5 separate regions of the Homo sapiens genome follow, and regions 1, 3, 4 and 5 are each linked to region 2. The links are contacts of gene promoters, found by promoter capture Hi-C in blood cells and fetal thymus (Javierre and others, 2016). All regions are on one chromosome and are shown on one strand. Each heading gives the region's core, a stretch centred on a gene start or on the middle of the fragment in contact. The rest is flanking DNA. Distances are from core to core; before and after follow the strand shown.

Evidence for each region. The method cuts DNA at HindIII sites, captures the fragments that hold promoters and counts their contacts. A CHiCAGO score of 5 or more calls a contact.
Region 1: a contact is called between the fragment with the promoter of TRAPPC2 here and the fragment with the promoter of PIR in region 2, in 1 of 17 cell types (neutrophils). The highest score is 5.8, in neutrophils.
Region 3: a fragment that was not itself captured here is called in contact with the fragment with the promoter of PIR in region 2 in 7 of 17 cell types (total CD4 T cells, naive CD8 T cells, activated CD4 T cells and 4 more); the score reaches 9.1 in total CD4 T cells.
Region 4: a contact is called between the fragment with the promoter of S100G here and the fragment with the promoter of PIR in region 2, in 7 of 17 cell types (naive CD4 T cells, total B cells, total CD4 T cells and 4 more). The highest score is 9.0, in naive CD4 T cells.
Region 5: a fragment that was not itself captured here is called in contact with the fragment with the promoter of PIR in region 2 in 1 of 17 cell types (neutrophils); the score reaches 6.1 in neutrophils.

The regions. Positions count from the first base shown.
Region 1 is chrX:13,733,331-13,736,030 of GRCh38, reverse strand. TRAPPC2 (trafficking protein particle complex subunit 2) reads left to right here and starts at 1,411. Exons shown (of 6, transcript NM_001011658.4): 1 at 1,411-1,506; 2 at 1,846-1,987. It overlaps OFD1 (OFD1 centriole and centriolar satellite protein), which reads right to left and starts at 1,283. Exons shown (of 23, transcript NM_003611.3): 1 at 948-1,283; 2 at 685-783. The coding sequence starts at 959. RefSeq lists enhancers at 370-941, 710-1,909. The HindIII fragment of the contact is 7,868 bases long and covers 1-2,700 here.
Region 2 is chrX:15,491,985-15,494,684 of GRCh38, reverse strand. PIR (pirin) reads left to right here and starts at 1,352. Exons shown (of 10, transcript NM_001018109.3): 1 at 1,352-1,495. RefSeq lists enhancers at 936-1,439, 1,440-1,942. The HindIII fragment of the contact is 4,696 bases long and covers 1-2,700 here.
Region 3 is chrX:16,676,537-16,679,236 of GRCh38, reverse strand. It overlaps CTPS2 (CTP synthase 2), which reads left to right. Exons shown (of 19, transcript NM_175859.3): 10 at 787-875. Among named protein-coding and RNA genes, the nearest start is that of S100G, 28 kb to the right of the region's middle. The HindIII fragment of the contact is 1,101 bases long and covers 853-1,953 here.
Region 4 is chrX:16,648,800-16,651,499 of GRCh38, reverse strand. It overlaps S100G (S100 calcium binding protein G), which reads right to left and starts at 1,342. Exons shown (of 3, transcript NM_004057.3): 1 at 1,297-1,342; 2 at 359-501. The coding sequence starts at 493. All of the region lies in intron 13 of CTPS2 (CTP synthase 2), which reads left to right. The HindIII fragment of the contact is 12,685 bases long and covers 1-1,547 here.
Region 5 is chrX:14,038,425-14,041,124 of GRCh38, reverse strand. No RefSeq gene overlaps it. Among named protein-coding and RNA genes, the nearest start is that of GEMIN8, 9.9 kb to the right of the region's middle. The HindIII fragment of the contact is 7,534 bases long and covers 1-2,700 here.

The DNA.
Region 1 (2,700 bases), core at 162-2,661, 1.8 Mb after region 2:
GTTGCCACTGAAAATGAAGATTTCAAAAAACTTTTAAGGAAACAGGGAAATGCTCACCATATAATTTAAATTAAAAAAGGATACATACACAGGATATAGCTACATATTTTAAACGTAAAATATGCTTTTGAAATGCATATTTCAATGAAAACACGTTGAGCTAATCCTACTCCTGGCTGTTAATCCAAATATAAAGCATACTAATAGGTATTTTCTGCCCAAACTAAACATTCATACATTTCAATATAGTTTAAAGATAAAATTTTTCATTTCCCAAACTATTATTAAGCAGTACACTAGTATTTTCTATATGGTGTCAATGTCCTTCATCCAAATGTATTACAAACCCACTTATTAATTTAGGAACCTATAAGCCATATTTATAAAACAAGCCTAATCTTACTGTGTTCATTATACAAATATTTCCTTCTCCTATCTTATTGTCAGTTCAATTAATTATTTGAATATGCTCCTTTAAGACGACTCAAACTCAACATTTTCTCAAACATTTTCAAGAGACTGTAATGTTTCAGGATACAGAGTTATTCGGGAATATAAAAATGTAATTCACCAATACAATCTATGTATCATACGATTATTAAAACCTAAACCTTGATTGAATTTGAACTACCTGTTACAGGTTACACTTGTAAAAGCTGACACAGATACGCCTAAATCCGATACCTTGAGTGTATCCAGTATACCCCGATCCTTAAACGTCTGGTATAGCTTTTTGCGCAGTTCATCTTGACTCAACACATCAGCCACGGTAAACATGTTGGACTAAAAGACAAAATGGTTATAGGTTACCTGCGGGGCAGAGGGAACGTGAACGTCTGAAAACAGACCAGTGGCCTCCGGGGAAGCCATAAGAGGCCTAGCGGCGAAAGTTTAACGAACACAAAACAAGACTTTATTTCCGCCCGAGAAGGGGCAGGTGTGTCTACCTGCGCCATCATCAGGCGTCAGCTCCCTCCGGAGCCCGCCTCGCTCGCCCCGCCGCGGCCCGAGTTTAGTGCCCAGCCCGGGCGGTGGGGCCAAGACGAGGGGGAATCCCTGCCCTCAGAACCCTGCCTCTGTCCCGAGGGTTCGGGAGGAACAAAGGTGCTGAACGTTCTCTGCCTCGCACTCCCAACTAGGTTTTCTAGCAAACACGCGAGCTTCCTTTCTTCGCGGTTCTGAGGCAAGGGCGAGGACCCAGGCACGACTCAAAGGCGGCTGGAGGGCGGGGACCCAGACACTAGGGACTGAAGGCAGCGAGGCAGGACCGCCTCACAGCCAGTCCGGCAACTTCCGGAAACCTGCTAAATATAGCCTTCCCGAGCTGAAGAGCTACGGCGCATGAGCTTGGTTGCCCAGCACCGGCCGGAAGCTCCGCCTACGTATCGCGAGAGCACATCCCAGGGTATCGCGAGAACTGCTTCGGCGTTCTGGCTACAGGTTCGGGGCGCGGGTCTCTTCCGCGGAAACTGACATTGCGTTTCCGTTGTCGGCCTCCCACTGCAGGTAGGGAATGGAGCAAGTGCGGCGGGGGGCGGGTGTTTTGAGTCCCTGGAGGACTTCGTAGCCCCTGCGTGACGCGGATGTTGGTCCTGTACCTCCACCCCTCCCCGGGGTGGCCGGGCCGGACCTGCCAGCCCTCCGCTGGCTCATCCGCGCAGCCCTTCCACCTGCAGACGTCCGCCCTCTCGGGGGCTGTGGTTTCGCGGTTCACTGGGTCATTCAGCTAACCCAGGGTTTCTTAACGGCTGCACTGTTGCCTTTTGGAGCCGGAAGATTCTTTGTTTTGGGAGGCTGTCCTGTGCATTGTAGGTTTAGCTGTATCCTTGCTCTCTATTTTGTCAGTATCACCTTCTCCCCCAAGTGTGACAACCAAAGATGTCTCCAGATATTGCCAGATGTCCTCTTGGAAGCAAGATCGCTCCGGGTTGAGATCCACAGAGCTAAACGTTTTAGAGTACCAACCATTGTGTGCTGTGAGGTAAAGGTGAGCCAGTCCTCATGATGCTTAAATGTAATTAGAAAGGAAAGGAACCAAACCTCTCAGAAGCGATAATGAAAATGTTACAGCCAGAGAATTGAACAAGAACTAAGATACATTGTAGACTGGATAAAGAGTTTAAAGGGGAGGTGGTTGAAGATGGAAGTGATCCAGATCATCTCTGTGGAAAAAGTGTGTCTTTATCGGGGCCTTGATGGGTAGGATTCGGGTGGTGAGCAAAAAGGAGAACATCACAGGAAGGGGAAAAATGAGCAAAGGAATCATTAAAAGAAAAAAAAAAGCCACGACCTTCTTGGGAGCAGTGAGGAATCTAGCCTGACTCCAGAGTTGTGTGCTGGGAATATAAGCCTTATATGGTATCTAAGTCCTGTGAGGACAGAATTGGATGTCAGCTTTGTGTACAGCATTGAAGATGAGTACGATGAGTTTTGATCTCTGGCTGTGAAAAACTTAAAGTATTTAAGAGGCAGTAAGAGTGACAGGACTTCATAGGAGGTGGAGAACCTGTAAGTTTTTGTTGGAAACAATGGAAAAGGAGGAGAGGCTTAGTTGGATTTTAAAGGATGGGTAGTGGTTGCAGACAGAATAAAGGAGAACATTCCAGGCATGAAGAGAGAAATGATAGTAGCTCTGAACTCGATATAGTCAAAGTGAATTTGGGAGAAAAAATAAGTAAACGAGTCAACGCTAGCAGAGGT
Region 2 (2,700 bases), core at 103-2,602:
CGATAAGAAACAATACTTTGTTATTCCATAGCACCTTTAATGTTCATGTGTATTATCTCAGCTAGCCTTGAACTGCCTAAGTAAGGTGATGAGGACGGGTTTAAGCCCCACTGATATTTTAAAAGCCCAGAGAAAAGTGTTCGTTCCTCTACTAACCTGTTCTTTTAGAGCAGGGATCTGCATACTAGGCCTGCAGCCAAAATGAGTAGGTAGCCCACTACCTATTTTTGTATAGCCAGAGGGCTAAGAATGGTTTTTACATTTTAAGTGGTTTTACATTTAAGATCAAAAGAAGGATAATATTTCATGACAAGTAAAAATTATATGAACTCAAAATTGTATGAATTTTATGAATTTATATTTCAGTATTCATAATTAAAGTTTTATTGAACTACAGCCACATTCATTTATTTACATGTTATCTATGGCTGCTTTCTTGCTACAAAGGCAAACTGGAGAATGTACATGGCCTGCAAAGTCAAAGTATTTACTATCTGGTCCTTCACAGACAAAGTTTTCCAACCTTATTTTAGAGACACCACTGTCTTTCCTTTCTCAAAACCAGGCAATGAGCCTTCTGGTGTTTAGAGAATAGAAACTGCAGCTATGCCTGTACCACTAGTTAATAATCCTAGTAATCAACTAGATCCCCTCACTGGCTTGTGCCAGCTCCTCATTCTTCTGGAAAAACTCTCCAACGCCTGCCCACTGTGTTCCAACACCATACAAACTCTTAACCAATTATCTCCCCACTAGAGTGTGCCTTCTCTTCAGGCAGGAATAAAGACGTATGGCTGCCCGTCCCCACTCCCGCACTCCTTTTCTCGCAATTCTAACTGACAAACAGCAGGCAACTTATCTATGGAACAAACGATTCTGTAGTGCTTAGAATGTGACAGGCTCATTTAATTCTCATTTCAGCCCGATAAGGCTGGCACTATTATCATCACCATCCTCATTTTATAGAGGAGGAACCAGAGGCACAGAGAGACTGAGCCACCTGTCCCAGGTCATGTCAAGTGGTGCCTCCCAGCGGTGGAGGCAGCACTGGAATCCGTGCCGCCAAGCTCCGCCGGCTGGGTGACAGGGAGACTACAGTTAAAAACAGATTTCCCACAAGACCGACCGGAGCGCCGATCAGAGCACCTGCCCGGGCCACACATTTCCTCCTGGAGCACAGCAAGTGCCGCCTAAATTACCCGAGTGAGCATCTCTTCCCGGCACGAGAGGCAGGGAGGCCAAAGGGCCGCCAAGCTGGCCTGGGAGAGGCGTAGGGCGGAGCGAGAGTGGAGTGACATTCCCGAGGGCGGAGCCCCAGGGCCTCCGAGACCCGTAGACTCCCGCCTCCCGCCTCCTCTAGGCCGCCGGCCGCGAAGCGCTGAGTCACGGTGAGGCTACTGGACCCACACTCTCTTAACCTGCCCTCCCTGCACTCGCTCCCGGCGGCTCTTCGCGTCACCCCCGCCGCTAAGGCTCCAGGTGCCGCTACCGCAGCGTGAGTACCTGGGGCTCCTGCAGGGGTCCACTAGGTGAGGGAATGCTGGCGGTCAGTTTGCAAAATCCTGCCTTCCCCAGCTCACTTTAGACTCCTAGGGGAGATAACAAGAGATACTTAAATTGTACTACGAAATTTGGTGAAAATGGTAGACGGCTTTTCTTTCTGCAAAGCACTGAGATCTAAGTACCTCATCAGTTGTTCACATGCATACAATTTAATCGTAGGAGTCTGGAAGGACCCAGACATAATCTAGATGGGGATAAAGATACTTTCTGGTTGCTTCGATGTAGGTGATGACCGGCCTGTACTGCTTTGAGTATTAAGCTCGTTTCTGCGCCTTGCAACCTATCACCCAATAAATATTTATCGATTACTATTCAGGGAGGATACATTTTAGGGTAGGCCTTGACTAAGTGGAGGGTATTGTGGAGTAGAGCCCTTCTGAATAACAGCAGCTAACATTCTCATAGCACTAACTGCACCCCTTTGAGGTAGGCGGTCTTATCATTCCATTTTACAGATAAAACTGAGCCACAGAAAACCTCAGGTCACACAGCTGATATGTGGTGAAGCTGAGATGCAAACCTAGGCTGTCTGGTTCCAGAGTCTGCTTTTTGCCAAAGCACCTCTCTTCGTTTCAGTAGGAATCTTTGAAGGAATTGGGTATATTTCACTTGAAGAAAAGATTTAAGGGATTGGGGGTACTGTCTGCAAACACTTGAAGTGGAATAGGGATAGATTATATTCCTTCTGGGATAGTCCATTAGAACCTAGACCTCCCAAAGAGGAAAAGACTTTCGAATAACAAACTCTGGCTATAGGTAAGTCCTGAAATATGAGATACATTGCCAAGAACAGCTGGTCCATGACTTGCCTATGCTCTAGGAGACTTCATGAGTAAGCTGAAAGATTTCTTGCCCAAAATGTTGGCCCTGAACTTCAGGAATAGATGGGTCTTTGAATTCAATGACCCTCGAAGATCTCTTTTAATGCCAAGATCTTCAGCATGTTCTGGTAAGAGTTAGGGACCTCTTTGTTTTTCTCCATTTTCTCTAAGGCGCCACACAAACCTGCCCCCATCTGTCAGCCTCATTGGTAGCAACTACCTCATGGGTGCTACCAGTGAGGCTGACAGATGAGTGGCACTGGGGAAGGGGTGGGAGATCGAGAGAATTCAGTGAAGTAAGAAAGACAAAGTGTTC
Region 3 (2,700 bases), core at 154-2,653, 1.2 Mb before region 2:
ACAGGCACCTGCCACCATGCCTGGCTAATTTTTATATTTTTAGTAGAGACGGGGTTTTGCCACGTTGGCCAGGCTGGTCTTGAATTCCTAACCTTAGATGATCTGCCCACCTCGGCCTCCCAAAGTGCTGGGATTACAGGCATGAGCCAATGCGCCCGGCCTGCTGGAGATTTCATACCCTTCTCCCCTCCTCTCTTTGTCTCCTGCTGCCTCCCATCACACACGTGCTTATCTTGCTTCTGCTCTCCTCTCGGCTGGCTTCTTGAACATTACCTCCCCAGAGCTCTTCCTTGACGTCAATCCTTCCTGTCTTTCCTCCAGTGTTCAGTTCTAGTGACGTCCTAGTTGCTTTTTTTTTAAATTTTTTTTTGAGACAGTGTCTCACTCTGTCACTCAGGCTGGAATGCAGTGTTACAATCAGGGATCATTGCAGCCCGGACCTCCCAGGCTCAAAGGATCCTCCCACCTCAGCTTCCCAAGTAGCTGGGGCTACAGGCACGTGCCACCCCACGCGGTTGACCCCAAGTTACTTCTGCATCGTTCTCTTCTTTGTCTGTCATAGCCATTATCACAGTATAGTGTGGATGCCCGTTTATCTGGTTTTGTAATCTTTCTGAAAGATTATAAGAGCCGCAAAACAGAGACTGTTTTTCTATCCCTAGTGCCCAGTACAGTGTTTGCATAATAAGTAATTATTGAATAATGTGTCATAGTATTAGATGGCTGCAGTATTTTTGAGTGTTTATTTTTCTTAAATACTCCTTTTATCTGTTGGATGTTTTTTAGTACATAGACTCCATTGATCTGGAGAAGATCACTGAAACCGAGGACCCTGTGAAATTTCATGAAGCTTGGCAGAAGCTATGCAAAGCTGAGTGAGTACCAGGGCCCACGCACACCAGTTAGGATAGGACCATTGTACTTTTTCTGTAATGATTCAGTTTACCCTAATTGCTAATTTTCATGCATTTTGAAAGGTAGTTTGGAGTACTTGTGGTCTTTGCAGGTGATTGTTCCACGATCATACTGCGTTGATTTGAAATGTGCCATGTTAATGCTGGTGGCATGTGCATAGAAATGGTTTTATTTGGGGAGGATGGGGATACTGTGGGAAAGTGTGTTGATTCTCCTGAAGGATGCAGAGGGAAAGTGTGTTGATTCTCCTGGAAGATGCAGAGATGAATCTTACATATGCAAAGTTAAAGTACAAGAATGACAGCTTTTTTTTTCTCTCTCTTTTTACAAAGTGAAAGCAAGTTTATTAGGAAAGTAAAGGAATTAAAGAATGGCTACTCCACAAGCAGAGCAGCCCTGAGGGCTGCTGGTTGCCCCTTTTATGGTTATTTCTTGGTTACATGCTAAAGAAGGGATGAATTATACGTGCCTCCCCCTTTTAGACCTTATAGGGTAACTTCCTGATGTTGCCATGGCATTTGTAAACTGTCATGGCACTGGTGGGAGTGTAGCAGTGAGGATGACCAGAGGTCACTCTCATTGCCATCTTGGTTTTGGTGGCTTTTAGCTGGCTTCTTTACTGCAACCTGTTTTATCAGCAAAGTCTTTATGACCTGTATCTTTTGCTGACCTCCTATCTCATCCTGTGACTTAGAATGCCTAACTATCTGGGAATGCAGTCCAGTAGGTCTCAGCCTTATTCTACCCAGCCCCTATTCAAGATGGAGTTGCTGTGGTTCAATATTTCCCCTCTCCCTTTTATAGGAGAACTCTTAATACTAAGGGTTGCAGAGGGACAAAGCTCCATCTTCTGTAACTTCTTCGTGTTGAATAGGGGCAATGACATTCCTCCCTATTAGAGTCTCTTGTATTTGGGGTAGAGAAGAGGTCAGTCAGAAAGCGTCAGATGGCGAGGGCCATTCATAACTCTGAGTTCCAACAAAAGGTGATATCTGGAAGATTAATAAATGTTTAGTTTAAGAAAACATTGAGTAAGCTTATTCTGCATTCCTACACAAAGAGTACAATAGCAATATATTCCACAACAGTAAAGCAAAAAATTATCCCAAGTAAACTAAATTAGAAGGCTTTCCATGAACTGGGCAACTGTTGGAACCAAGCTGATATGCAGTTGCTAGCTGATTTCAATACATGCCCAGAATTAGAATACTGATCCCAATTTTTACGTTACCCATCCCTCTTGTTTTTTTTTTTTTTTTTTCCGAGACAGAGTCTTGCTCTGTCTCCCAGGCTGGAGTGCAGTGGTGCGATCTCGGCTCACTGCAACCTCCGCCTCCCAGGTTCAAGCAATTCTTCTGCCTCAGCCTCCCAAGTAGCTAGGATTACAGGCACGCGCTACCATGCCTGGCTGATTTTTGTATTCTTAGTAAAGACGGGTTTCACCATGTTGGCCAGGCTGGTCTTGAACTCTTGACCTCGTTATCCACCCGCCTTGGCCTCCCAAAGTGCTGGGATTACAGGTGTGAGCCACCACGCCCAGCCCTGCTCTTGTTTTTTTCTGAGCTGCAGTCACAGATCACTGATTGTTTCACAGGAATAAGCAGGGTCAGTCTAAATTGCAGAAAAAAACTTCAAAAACAACCAATAAGACTAGAATTCATAATAATAACAGTTAGACCATAGTTCTTGAAACATAATTTTTTCTCTCTCCAGTTTCCCATTTTCACTAAAGACAAATCATGGTAAGAACAATTTGCTTTATTATACTTGGCCTGATTATTTGTA
Region 4 (2,700 bases), core at 93-2,592, 1.2 Mb before region 2:
GCAGTCCTCTTTGTTTTCCTAAAGCCTGGCACAGAAGTACTGAATCCATGCTGAAGGCCTTATTGGGTTTGCTTGGTGACTTGTGGGTCTTCCAGGCATAACTTGGCATTGCTTCCATTTATTATGGCTAGTCCTGCAGAGTCCTGTGCTGAGGCTGCAGGAGGGATAGAAGGCTTGGCCCTTGTTTTCTGAGAGCTTGCCTTCTGAAATGTGGCCTGACTTAAGGGGAAGAAACCCCACCTGCATGTGTCCTCCCTCAAGCGACGGTCCCTATAAGGCTCTACCGGAGTCCTCTCCCCTCCCTCCCTCCCCTCCCACCATCAGTCCCATTAAGTGGGCTCTGCGGATGGCCACTTACTTTGAGTAAACTGGGGAATTCAGCCTGAATCAATAGCTTCAGTTCATCCTTTGACAACTGGTCTGGATCACCTTCTTTGGCTGCATATTTTTCAAAAATCCTCTTCAGTTCCTCAGGAGACTTTTTAGTACTCATTCTGGTGTCTTATAAATTGGGAAGAAAATAAACTTACCAAAAAGCTGAAGTACAGTTTTGTGCTGAGGGTTGTCTGCAGGATTTTAGTGCCATTGGGCCATTTCCTTGGCATAAATGGGGAAGAATAAGGAAAAGAGAATGTCGGGGTCGGAATGGCACCAGTAACTACTAACATGTTTAAAAAATAAGCATCTTAGGCCAGGCACGGTAGCTCATGCCTGTAATCCCAGCACTTTGGGAGGCCAAGGAGGGTGGATCACTTGAAGTCAGGAGTTCGAGACCATGGAAGCCTGGCCAACATGGTGAGACCCTGTCTCTATACAAAAATTAGCCAGGCGTGGTGGTGCGTGCCTATAGTCCCATCTACTTGGAAGACCGAGGCAGGAGAATCGCTTGAACCCGGGAGGCGGAGGTTGCAGTGAGTGCGATGCCACTGCACTCCAGCCTGGGTGACAGAGCGAGCCTCCGCTGCAAAAAAAAAAAAAAAAAAAAAAAGACATCTTAGATAGTATGTTAAATGTCTGTTCTTAGAGTACATCTGTTAGGAGATGGTCCCTGGAGCCAAACATTTTTATTAGTAATTAATGACATTCTACACTTTTTATGTACCTGATCTGCACTCTGCAGGCTGTGGTCTTGAAGAATACTTGACCACAGCTTCTAGCTTCTAAGTTACAGGGAATATCTCCAGATGGCATAAACTCACCTTCTCTCCAGACCATTATCTTTCACACCATTCTAAAAGGAAGCAGAGTATTAATGCAAACAGAAGGAGCTCTAGGTAGTACCAAAATCACACTAACCTGGTTGCCCAATAGTGAAACAGCTAGAAGAATCAAAGAGGAGTTTGAAGAGCTGAGCAGAATCATGACACTTTTATAGTCTTTACGGGCACGCCACCCTGATTATGAAAATTTCCTTTTGTTGGCCATTTAAGGGTAATTATTAATGGTTTTTGAAACTCAGGCTTAAGACTGCATGAACCCCATAATTAAGGGCAAGATCCAGTAAAGGTCCATCTCGACAGTTGCTTCATGGTTCAGAGTCGTAAGCTTGGATTTTTTTCCCCCTGAGATTATATTTTCCCTCCAATGTAGAATTATATTTGCTCACAGTTCACATTTCATAAAGCTTAGATATAGAGGATTCTTTTCAATTTAGTTGCATATTTAGGCTTTAAAAAATAACTTTCTTCATATCCAGAAAAAATAAATGCTGCCCTGTGCGGTAGCTCATGCCTGTAATCCCAGCACTTTGGGAGGCCGAGGCAGGAGGATTGCTTGAGGTGAGGAGTTTGATACCAGCCTGGTCAACACAGCAAGACATTTCTACTGAAAAATTTAAAAAATCAGCCAGGTGTGATGGTACATGCCTGTAGTCCCAGCTACTGTAGAGGCTGAGGTGGGAGGATTCCTTAAGCCTGGGAGGTTGAGGCAACAGTGAGCCATGATTGTGCCACTGCACTCCAGCCTGGGTGACAGAGTGAGATCCTGTCTGTAAAAAAGAAAAAATGCTGTCATAGAAGGACAATATTACATAGTTTAAAAAATTACGGTATGGCCATTGAAGTCCTTCTGATGTCTTTACATATTAGCAGCTTAAATATTTGAATACATGAATGAATGAATGGAAGTATTGCTTCAGAAGCAGGTTTAAGAAGTGGAAAGAAGATACTCAGTAATTTGTGGTTTTATTTGGCAAATCAATATTGAGTAACATGGTCATTTTTTCAGCTCTTTCATTATTTGTTGGTCCTGTGTCTGCTTTTTATTTCTCATTATCCTTTTCCTTACCAAATATATTTCGTGATCATTCGAAAAACTTGTGAGAACACTCGACTTACTCTTGTTCAGTTGGAAATACTTCAAACTTTTTGTAACTGCCATGATTTAAAATTGCCAAGGAGATTGATTTCTACTGGAAAGAGTTCCATGAAATAAGTAGGACATTTCCAAGGGACATTGATCTAATGCTGATTGTAACTCACAGGAAGGGGTTCCAGGTGGATTTTAAGAGCACTTTACAGCTTTGAAACACTTGTACACTTCCACACTTATAGAATTTTCCCTGACTCTGCCTTATATCACCTACAAACTGAGGACTGGACTATTGGGACTGTATTTCTCCCTGATGTTTCTCAGCTCTAAAATTCTAGGGCCTTATTTACATTGGAGAACAAATGGGAAATCTAATAGAATTCCTTAAAA
Region 5 (2,700 bases), core at 20-2,519, 1.5 Mb after region 2:
GTGCTCAGGAAACTGTTGGAGAAGACAGGAAAGTACACAATAGATTTTAGAAAGATTTCTAGTCAAAATGGTTTTGTTGTTGTTGTTTTTGTGTTTAGAGGAGTAAACATCAGTTAATGGGGAAAAGAAGATTCATAAGTCATTTAAATAGGCCACTTCTTTCCTAACAGACTGGACAAATTGGGCATTACTGTATTTCAAACAAAGCACGAAAAATCTCTTTAGAAGTGTCTCATTCTACAAATATACTATAACCGCAATAATGTGATTTAGGAGGGAAAGAGAGAGACACACACACAAAGACTGCTACTAACTCCTGGACAGGTTAGAAGTTATTACCATTCCATCTTTCTTGCCATTGTTCCCCAACCACATATATTCTCAACTTTTACATAGCTATTAGCATAATATATGATTTATTTTGCTTTGACTTGACTTATCATTCATCACATACTTTCCATGTGCCTATATAATATTCATAATTTTCATTTTGATGGCTGCCTAATAGTCCATGTTCCTAAATTGCTTTCAATTTTACCAATTATCAATAAACAATACTGCAATAAACACCTTCACATATACAGCTATTCTGTCCTTGTGTAGTTTTGGATTACTATCAAACAATAAATTCACCAAAGTGAAATTAGAAATATATCTAAATTAAGAAATGTATTTGAACAGTGACTTGCTTTACGAGGTTGTGGTGAAAATGAGGTTGTAATACCAGTCAAAGCCCTCCTCCCCAGATTAGCAGAAATTTAACTCCTCACTTGACTCTCCCCCACTTCCCTGAATTGCCCAAGAACCCAGAGATTCATTCAGTCAAACTCTTAGCAGAGGGAAAACTAGAGAATCTGACCACCGTCCAGTGGACACTTCTTGACGCCTGCTGTTGCTTCAGTTACTCAGTTACTCCTGTCCTATGGCACATGCATCTAATGAGTGGATATCATGGCTCTTAAACCATGAACTCACAACACCCATGTGTGAAGAGGGCCCCGTGGGCATCATTGTTCCTCTACTAACAGATGAAGATAGGCAGGCTCTGAGAAGTAGTGACACAACCAGGAAGGGACAAAGACAGACCTTCCATCCCTCGGACAGGGATTCATCCATTTCACCGTGCAAGCTCATCATGTACAAGATCCATGCCAAGAAAAATCTGACAGTATACAGGGACAGGACCTGATTTTTTTTCTTAATGTAGAAGGGTGATTCTGCACAGTATATGTAGTTGTGCTTCTATGTCAATGACCCATAAAATATCTTGTGAGGACAGAAAACATAACATACGTAAAATTATGCTCTAAAAAAGCCTTACACATTGTTGGCCTCAAATTATTTTAGCCAGTTGAAATGAAAATTATTTAGAGATTAATTTTAACCTAATTCGGATTTTGTTGAAGATGTAGTAACTTTAAAAACAATGTGAAAGAATAGAGCTGGAAACGCAGTAGTGAAATATCATCTAAAAACAATACACTATTGAATTTTAGATGTATAGAGTCATTTACATGTGACTGACATGTGTCACTACAGCCTATGACTGAGAGATTAATGCACTTCCTTTTAAAAGCATTTCTCCAATACTTTGTACAATTGTGCCCTCTGCCGGATGCACATGGGTATTATTTTACAGGGCTATACATAGGAAACAATGCTTTATAATCACATCTTTTTAAAGTAAAACTTTTCAATACTTGAATTCTGTGTATATTTCAGCAATTAGTTGGTTCTATCCCACACAAACTTCCTAATCCTCTTTTTAAATTACTGATAATCTCATTTACAGAAATCAAAACATTGTTAAAGATTAGCTCAGTACTGTTTAGTGCTGTCAGCTGAGTAAATTGTTACTTCTCAAAAAAGAACTCATAACTAAATATAAATATGGATAAATCTCTTGAAAGTTTCTCATATCTCAATAAAATGCATAATGAAACCATTTATTATCATATTTAAGTTTACAAATATCCACCCAATTATTGTCTCATTTCGTTTCATTATTTAAAAATATTTATTCCCATGTAGCATACTGGATTTCAATGATACACAACAAAATAATATGTGGTCTCAATTCTCAAGAATTTTATTATTAAATGGAAAATGGTGAGAAGTAAATGAACAACTGCAGAGTAGCACATGCCATGAACACTGGGATGTTCCAGATTCCCCTTCAATGAGGAACTTGCGGCTCCAGTCACAGAGAGCCTCCTTACGCAATGTCACACCCCTTTTCAGGAGCCCACATCCAATGACTGATCCATGCTGGAGAAAAAAGTGCCCACCATATCAGCCCAACTTTCTACAACTCAGAAGGGCCATTCTGGCTCCCTAAATCCCCTGGGGTTTACCACAGTTGTTAGGCACACATTCAAGCTCAGCCCTTCTCTCTACCCCAGTGGTTTTCAACTGAGGGCAATTTGCTATCCCCTCCTTCCCCACCACCAGCATATTTTGCAATGTCTGAAAACACTTTTGGTCATCACAACTGAAGGGGAGGGAGGTGTGTATGTGTGCTACTGGCATCTAGTGGGTAGAGCCCAGGGATACTGCTATGCATCCCATAGTGCACAGGACAGCCCCACAACAAAGTGTTACACCTAGTCTGAAATGTCTCTATGCCACAGTTGAAAAACCCTGTTCTATCCAATCTCGTGCTTTCCTTTCCCTTTCATAGGTGTTGGTCTGAGGTCATTC